Regions from separate parts of the Homo sapiens genome. Here region 2 is linked to region 1. The links are contacts of gene promoters, found by promoter capture Hi-C in blood cells and fetal thymus (Javierre and others, 2016). All regions are on one chromosome and are shown on one strand. The core of a region is centred on a gene start or on the middle of the fragment in contact, and the rest is flanking DNA. Distances in the headings are between cores, read along the strand shown.

Region 1 (4,090 bases), core at 1,514-4,013:
CATGAGGACAGGAGATCGAGACCATCCTGGCTAACACGGTGAAATCCCATCTCTACTGAAAATACAAAAACTTAGCTGGGCCTGGTGGCAGGCACCTGTAGTCCCAGCCACTCGTGGGGCTGAGGCAGGAGAATTGCTTGAACCTGGGAGGCAGAGGCTGCAGTGAGCCAAGATCGTGCCACTGCACTCCAGCCTGGGAGACAGAGCAAGACTCCATCTTAAAAAAAAAATATATATATATATATATGCACCTCACTGTCACCAGGGTTGGCTGAGATACTCTGTGTAAAGCACTTAGAATAAGGGCTAGCGAACTACAAGTGCTCTGCACAGCTTAGCTCTCGGTGTTTGAACTAGAATAGATGCCCATTTACCCACATCAGGCCCTCTTCCTGCACCTCCTGGCACTTGATTTCAGTGTTTGCATTGCATCACTGCTTCCCTCCCTGCCTGGTTTGGACCGCACAGTCAACTGCCGCGTGTCCTGCCTCATGGAGCCCCTCCCACTTTATCTCCCTGTTGTTCCTGTCTGGATTGTTACAATGTCCTCTCTGCTCCGGGCTTCCCAACTGTAATCCATCCTACGCTGTGGACCACCCATGGCTTTGCTCCTGCCAAGTGGACACTAAACATGGATGTGGCCCCATTTTGTGTTATTGGTTCTATTTGAATTCACATGCTTGCCTTGAGTCCCTGAGTCCCATGTGCAACTAAAACAGAAAGATAAAATCAAAGTAACCCTTTGTTCTTGCGGCTGTCTTCAGTAATATAAGGTGGGTCTGCATTGCTCAACAGAAAGTCTTCCGGTTCATTAAAACTGTACATCATTGGTACCATAAATATCCAACAAATATCAACTTGGCCATGAATTCTAATCAGCTACCTATAATACTACCAAAAATATCTTAATCTGGATGTGGCTATACACTGAAAATTTTGGTTTTTGCTGGTTGGTTATGGGCTTTGGTTTAGTGGTGCTAGAAAAAAACATAGCAGTTTTTGCTGTGACAGAGGATATGGTAAAACTCTCTGTCCAATTTCAGAATGCAGACGACAGACCCAAGCTTCAGTCATTTCATATAAACCTGCAGGGTGTCAAATGAAACTATTTTTTAAATGATGTTTTAACCCTATCTTTGCTGGTTGGCTGTGTTCTTGCTAAGGAGGCTTCTTAGATTCTGTGAAGCAAGCCAGACCAAAAAATAATTTGTTAAACGGATGTGGAAAAATGATTTAAAAAATCAGAATACTTTAGTGATGGATCCCCAAAGACTTCTCAGTTTTTTAAGTCTGGTCCTAAGCTACTTGGCTAGGAAATGACCAAAAATGGTCAAGAGATATCTTTGGAGTGTACCTTTTAGAAAACCTTTCCTCTACACTGCATCTGCAAACTGGGATTACCGGGAACTTTGAAATAATTGTACAGCTCCATCTAATCAGAATACTCAACAATTAAAATTCACTGATGCCAAAAATGGAAAGAAAATAAGTAAATAACTCTTAAGAGCAGTGGCACCATTTTTTTTAAATAACTTCCTCCTCCTGCCTTCAACTCTCAGAAGATTATCACAAAAACATCCATATTATGAATAGTTTTATAGGTCAGTTCCCTTCCGTACCACTAGGCATACACTGATGATCATTTCCAAATTTTTCCAGACTGCTTTGATATCATGTGATTCATTTTAAGTAGAGGCAGTTTTGTGAATTCCCTAGCCAAACTTTTTAGATTGTGGATTTTCATATAAATAAATTGACAGACCGGTGGGGGTGGAGGGGGAAATAGAAAAAGGAAAAAAATGTTTTTGTAAACTATCTTACTCCTAATCTGTTATTGAGTGAGCCATTTTTGGCTCTAAGGCACCCTAGCCCGTTAATTCAAGGTTACCTTCGGTCATTGCCATGGCTCCAGTGCTTATTATCATTGCCTCATCCACATCTTTTGAGAACACTCTGAGAATCTACACGGCTTTAACACACTTCTTCGCACTAGTGAGAACGCCCGCAATGCCTTATTCAGTAAGGTTAAATGAGTTTGTTTGCTGAAACATTCGCCACATGATCCCAACGCTCCTCCAGCTCCATCCCGTCTATAATCGCAGAGCGAACACTCACTCACCTTGGGCGTGTCAATAATTGATGGTCTGGGGATGGAAGCGTGAAACACCACTGCTTCACAGTCCGCCCCATCATCCAGGGACCCGGGCACATCTTCAGGCGTCTCCGCGGGCTGGGCCGCAGTGCGGTGACTTGAATTCCGATTCGCACTGCCATTTCTCTCTGCATGGGTGCTCGAATCTTGCCTTTTCTCTGGAGCTCCTTCTGCGCTTGGGTGTCTTGGCTGTCTGCCTGCTTTGGCCACAGGCTGCACACGGACGGTGGAATGAGTATCAGCCACGCCGGACTGATTGAAGGAAGCACTCTCCCTCGTATTCCCAAAACAGGCGAGCAGAGCTGAGCACGGAAATGGATGCATGCTTCTAGAGGGAGACTTCAGTCTTTTGGTGAGTCTTGCTTTCCACGTGGACATGACTTGCAGTGAATCATTGCAAAGTTCAAACGGGGCAAGGAAATTTTCCAGGGGTCCACATCACCTCCACTTTGCTTATAGGAACTCTTTCCAATTGCCCGAAGAGAAGAACTTGCTAGTGGTTGCCCCTAAATAGAAGTTGGGATGGCAAGGCCACCTTCCCTGAGAGTCACTTAGCCGCTGGGGCCCCTTTGAAAGTGTCCATCCTGGGCAATTTCGCGCTCTTCCTTCTGTGATGCTGTCAGTGGCTAAAGAAAGCTGTTGGGGAGGCATGTGAGTGGCTCCGGTTACAGTTCCTAGGCAGGGCAGACGCTTCAGGGTAGGGTAGTGCCAAGTCAATAGACAATTGCTTCAGGTTACCTAGGAGGCATAAAGATAATGTAGCCTGATAGCATCTGCCATAATAGCGTCAGCCTGCGTATCAATAACATCATAACAGCAGCAAAACCTTCTTTGGTTACCCCCCTTCAAATATTTATTCCCCCAAACAAAACAAAAACGACCCAGTTGTCCATCACAAATGAAGACCCCTAGAAGGGCCACGACCCTAGCAGCTGTTTCATTATTAAAATAGGAGGTAGACTCAATCTTTCGCCTGGAGAGATGCGGTGTGATGTGTTTTCTGAATCTTTCTGGACTTTTCGGGATCTTTCCGGAATCTTCCCGGAATCTTCCCCCCACCCTCAAAACAAGTTTCCTGGTTTCAGGATCCACATTGCCTTTTCTGATAACTATAAATAGGTCTTTGGTAATTTGATTTTTTTTTTTTTACTAGCTAGGCTAAGTTCTTGATTAGTTTTCAACAATACCAAAAAGAAAAAAGAGAGCCCTACATTAACAATTATCCTTATGTATTATGTTATTATGTGTGGAGGTATTATGTACATGTGAAGTATTCTACCTATATGGTATATATCACCTACTTTCAGAAAGTAACTCCTTTTTGAACATAGATCTTCTGTTTCTCAACACATTAATATGTGAATGGTGAAAAATAATAAATTATAAACATATTCTAAGACAATTCAGAATCAAGATTTTTCCTTAGCCAACTGTCTGCTAGGAATGTTATAGAAATGTAATACTGTAATGCTTTTACCGTTAATAGTGATTTTAGGGTCAAGATTTCTGGGCATGTTACCCACTCTTAATTAATTTGTTTGCTCTCTCTTTTAATTTAATGTCAAGATGTGCTCTTTGGCCCAGACAGGTGGTAGTTATTATATTATGGCACTGATTCCCGTTTTACAGAGGCAGAAACCAATTCTTTGAAATTTCATGTGACTAAGGCAAGTTTATGCCACTAAGAAGGGCTTGTTGGGTGCCCGAGATCCCTGTTCTCCTATCTGTCCTCTGAGTCTCATTCTATCTAACAATCATTTTATAGATGTAATGGCCATACGGGAAATATTGTTCTAAATGGACAGTCATATTCATAATACAAAAAGGCAGATATGGCTTTAGAATGAGTGGATATGGCATCAAATGCACATTTTATTTTAGTCTCTACTGAAAGTTAGAATATAGAAAGCTTCCATTTATTTAGAGGTTACCGTGTGG
Region 2 (4,338 bases), core at 1,839-4,338, 140 kb before region 1:
GACTCTGTCTCAAAAAAAAAAAAAAAAAAATTCAAAATATATGCTTGGTGTCCACATTTTGGATAACAGGCAGCCAAAGCTGGGTTTATTTGCATGGAAATAGCTTTTCAAGAGAATGGGAATCAATAGAGGGAAAGTTGATGAAATTCTGCTTCCAGTAATGATGGAATTAACTCTCCCACAGAAAACAGCTGCCAGCTTAAAAAAAGAAAAAAGAAAAAAAACCCCAAAACCAACTACTTGAGTGACCAAAAGCAGGCAGAAACTGGAGCAGGAAGGGTCTACATTTGGGAGGAGGATGGCGTTAGCTGAGTTTCCCATTTTTGCAGCTTTTAGCCTGAAGTCAGATGATGCCATCACTGTGGGGGTGGAGATTTAGGCAGGGTATGTGTCTAACACTTGGATAGAAACCTCAGTCTTGGCCGGGTGCGGTGTCTCACGCCTATAATCCAGCACTTTAGGAGGCCGAGGCAGGCAGATCACTTGTGGTCAGGAGTTTGAGACCAGCCTGGCCAACATGGTGAAACCCCATCTCTACTAAAATACAAAAATTAGCCAGGCATGGTGGTGCATACCTGTAATCCCAGCTACTCGGCAGGCTGAGGTGGGAGAATCGCTTGAACCCCGGAGGCGGAGGCTGCAGTGAGCTGAGATTGCACCACTGCGATCCAGAGACTGGGCAAGAGAGAGAGAACCTATCTCCAAAAAAAAGAAAAGAAAAAAAAAAAGGAAAGAAGAAAGGAAGGAAGGGAGGGAGGGAGGGAGGGGAAGAAAAAGAAACAAACCTCAGTTTTTTTGGCCTGAAGAACTAGGGTAGGGGTCAGTCAGGGGCCATGGCAGCTGGAAGCGGAAGAGGAGAAATATGCAGAAGAAGAACAGGAGCAAGAAACCAGGAAGCCCTAAATTCTCCACAGGAACTCTGCCCAAATGCTTGGCTGATGCCTAAACTTTGCTTGCAACCATTAGACTTCGAACAGCCCACCTAAGGCTAAAAGAACTAAATGGAGATTTTAGCTATTGTTCACTACTTATTAAAACAAACAAACAAAGAATCAACACCCTCTGCCAGTGATCCTCCAGCGTGTGGTTGGGATATGGCAGGGATATCCCTTCTTGCACTGTAAGAGACAGCCCCATACCACGAAGTTCTGCTCTACTCAAAATGTCAGTTGCACACACAGTTAGTTCTGCTCTAAGGAGAGGTTTCAAACCTCCCTGGTTGGAACTTGGAATGTGTTTTTCTATTTTTTTTTCTTTTTTTGAGATGCAGTCTCGTTCTGTCACCCAGGCTGGAGTACAGTGGCGTGATCTCAGCTCACTGAAACCTCCACCTCCTGGGTTTAAGCAATTCTCCTGCCTCAGCCTCCCAAGTAGCTTGGATTACAGGCGCCTAACACGACGCCTGGCTAATTTTTGTATTTTTAGTAGAGGCGGGGTTTCACTATGTTGGCCAGGATGGTCTTGAACTCCTGACCTCAAGTGATCTGCCCGCCTCGGCCTCCCACCGCATTGAGATTACAGGCATGAGCCACCATGCCTGGCCAGAATGTGTTTTCCACTGAAATTCTGTGATAAATGATAGCTCCTGTGGAGCCAGGTGCACAATGAATTCAGTAGTCTTTACGCCAATCTACAAATAATACCATGACTTGTCTTATTGCTTCTATGAGAAAATGTGTTCCAAGTTTCAAACAACACACTTTGAAATTCCTGGAGCACAACTACTTCTTCGATGCTCCTTTGGCTTCAGGATTGGCTACCTTCACCAATCAATCTGAGCACCCCTCATCCCCATACACAATGGTGGCATCCTATGCCCAATCAGAATAGGATGGATATGCACTCAGGATTTTGCCATAGTGTGACTCTTATAAAAAGGAGCCAAAAAAAAAAAAAAAAAGCCAACAATTCCAGGATCATGTGAGAGAGAGAGCAAGTGAGAGAGAGAGAGAGAGAAATGTCTACTTCTATGTGCACATAAAACTAAATGTATACGTTCTGCCTGTTGTCTACATACCTCTAACTCTTTTTGGGGGTAGAGTATATGAACTATTTAATAACTCAACGTAATGATGTTACATTTTAGAATAAGAACCAAGGAATCAGATTTCAGTAGAAAAGCAAAGCACTGAACACTACATCTCTTGTGTGTCTAAATATTCTCTTTTTCTAAGGACATCAGTAATATTGGATTATGGCCCACTCTAACAGCCTGATTTTAACTTAATCACTTCTCTAAAGGTCCATCTCCAAACACAGTTACATGGCGAAGGAAGTACTGGGGTTAGGGCTCAACATATGAATTTTAGGGGGGGTGGGGGAGTGGGTATGAAGATAATTCAGCCCATAATGCATATTGCTGTCTACTGAGTCGAGTTCTTGGAGGTTGAATCCTGCTGCTATAGCCTTGAACTCCAAGTCATTATGGCTCAGCTCCTTGCAGAGTTTATAATTTGGAATTGCTTGAGTTGATGGCCCATGCAGCTTTATCTGCGGGTATCCTTCCAAAGGATTGTGGGCATATCTTTCCAAAGAGGTTGTCCATTTGTTTTTGCCAGATGTCCTGGAGGATTTACTGATCTAGGATGTTTTGTATGCTCATTTTTCAACTTAGGAAGTCATTATACTCTATAGGTAAACTTAAATCCCAAACCCATGCACTGTGTAAGCTGTGATCATGAATTCTCAGGGGAGACTTTGTTCCTACTCAGGGCTCATGCAGAGACAAACAAGCTTCATCGGTGTCTCCCTTTTAACAAGAGTGTCATTCCTCAAGGTCTCGGCTTCACGAGGGTCTTATTTCTAACACCATGCCCCTCCTAGCACCCAGGCCTTTCCCTGTGGCAGTCTGATTTTTGGGGTGGCCCCTATGATCCCTACCTCCTGGTGTTCATACCCTAGAATAATATCCTCCTCTTGAGTGTAGGCAGGACCTGTAACTTGACTCTAACCAATAGAATATGAGACCAGCTGCAGTGACTCACGCCACTAATCTCAGCCCTTTGGGAGGTTGAAGCAGGTGGATTACTTGAGCCCAGGAGTTCGAGACCAGCCTGGGCAATATGGCAAAACTTATCCCTACAAAAAATACAAAAATTAGCCAGGTGTGGTGGCTAACTTTTTATGGTGCTTGTAGTCCCAGCTACTTAGGAGGCTGAGGTCAGAGGATGGCTTTAGCCTGTGAGGCTGAGGCTGCAATGAGCTGTGATCATGCTACAGCACCCTAGCCCGGGCAACAGCAAGACCCTGTCTCAAAACAAACAAACACAGATGGCAAGGGTGACAGGATGGACATGATTCCAAGATGATTTTATTCATCTTGCTGGAGTCTCTCATTCCCTTCCTGGCTTTGACAAAGCAAGCTGACATGTTGGGGTGGTGTATATTAGGATGCCCATGTGGCACTAAGGGTGGCCTCCTGGCTGACAACCAGGAAAAAAACAGAAGCTTTCAATCTTACCTACACCTGCAAAGAACTGAATTCTTCCAACAAGAGTGGATTCCTCTCCAGTGGAGACCTCAGCCTAGCAGACACTTTGATTGCAGTCATTTGAGACCCCAAGCAGACAACCTAGCCACGCCATGCTTAGCCTCTTGACCCACAGAAACTGGAACATCATAAATATATGTTGTGCTTTTTGTCACTAAGTTTGTGGTAATATGTGGTAACATAGCCAAGGATAACTAATATACTCTCCCAACTCAGATGGTCACCAAACCCAAGGCCAAAGATTTCTAAGACCTGCCCCAAGAGCAGTGATAACAGTAATTTATAAAATTATTACTCTGGTTTTCAGTTTCTTCTTTGTTTTTGGTCCCTGGGAATTTCTATTATTTTCTTTAACAATTAGCTGTGGATTTACAGAAATCTTACGTTGTGTACAGCCTGCTAAGGTTTTTTTTTTTTCCCCTCTGTAAGCTGGATATGTTTCATGTTGTAAAGTCCTCCATATTGCTAGAAGTGGAAGATGCCTTAAAGGTTTCCAGTCAAAGTAGAAGCATTATGCTCCCTTCTCTTTGAATGAATTTTCTGTTCTCCAGAAAATCCACCTACTCCCAATGTTGGCATGCAGCCTTTAAGTTTGAGATTCAACTTTATCTCAAATGCTAACTTTTTCTCAAAATGCCAATCCACATTTTTAGCTGCCTCTTAGAAATAGTTTTCTTTTGGAGGTCTTATCTTGACATTAAGCACCTTACTTTCCAAAATGCCTGCTACCTATTTTTGCCTGCCTTTCAGGGGATTATTTCCTAATCATTTCCCAGTGCTCACCTTCACTCATCCCTTATCCAGTTAGTGACCAAGAGCTCTTTTTTATTCCTTACTATTCTCACATC

The links. The method cuts DNA at HindIII sites, captures the fragments that hold promoters and counts their contacts. A CHiCAGO score of 5 or more calls a contact.
Region 2: a fragment that was not itself captured here is called in contact with the fragment with the promoter of FAM107B in region 1 in 2 of 17 cell types (naive B cells and total B cells); the score reaches 9.9 in naive B cells.

Annotation. Positions count from the first base shown.
Region 1 is chr10:14,772,134-14,776,223 of GRCh38, forward strand. It overlaps FAM107B (family with sequence similarity 107 member B), which reads right to left and starts at 2,764. Exons shown (of 5, transcript NM_031453.4): 1 at 2,120-2,764. The coding sequence starts at 2,530. The HindIII fragment of the contact is 2,997 bases long and covers 1,063-4,059 here.
Region 2 is chr10:14,634,389-14,638,726 of GRCh38, forward strand. All of the region lies in intron 2 of FAM107B (family with sequence similarity 107 member B), which reads right to left. Among named protein-coding and RNA genes, the nearest start is that of FAM107B, 140 kb to the right of the region's middle. The HindIII fragment of the contact is 714 bases long and covers 2,732-3,445 here.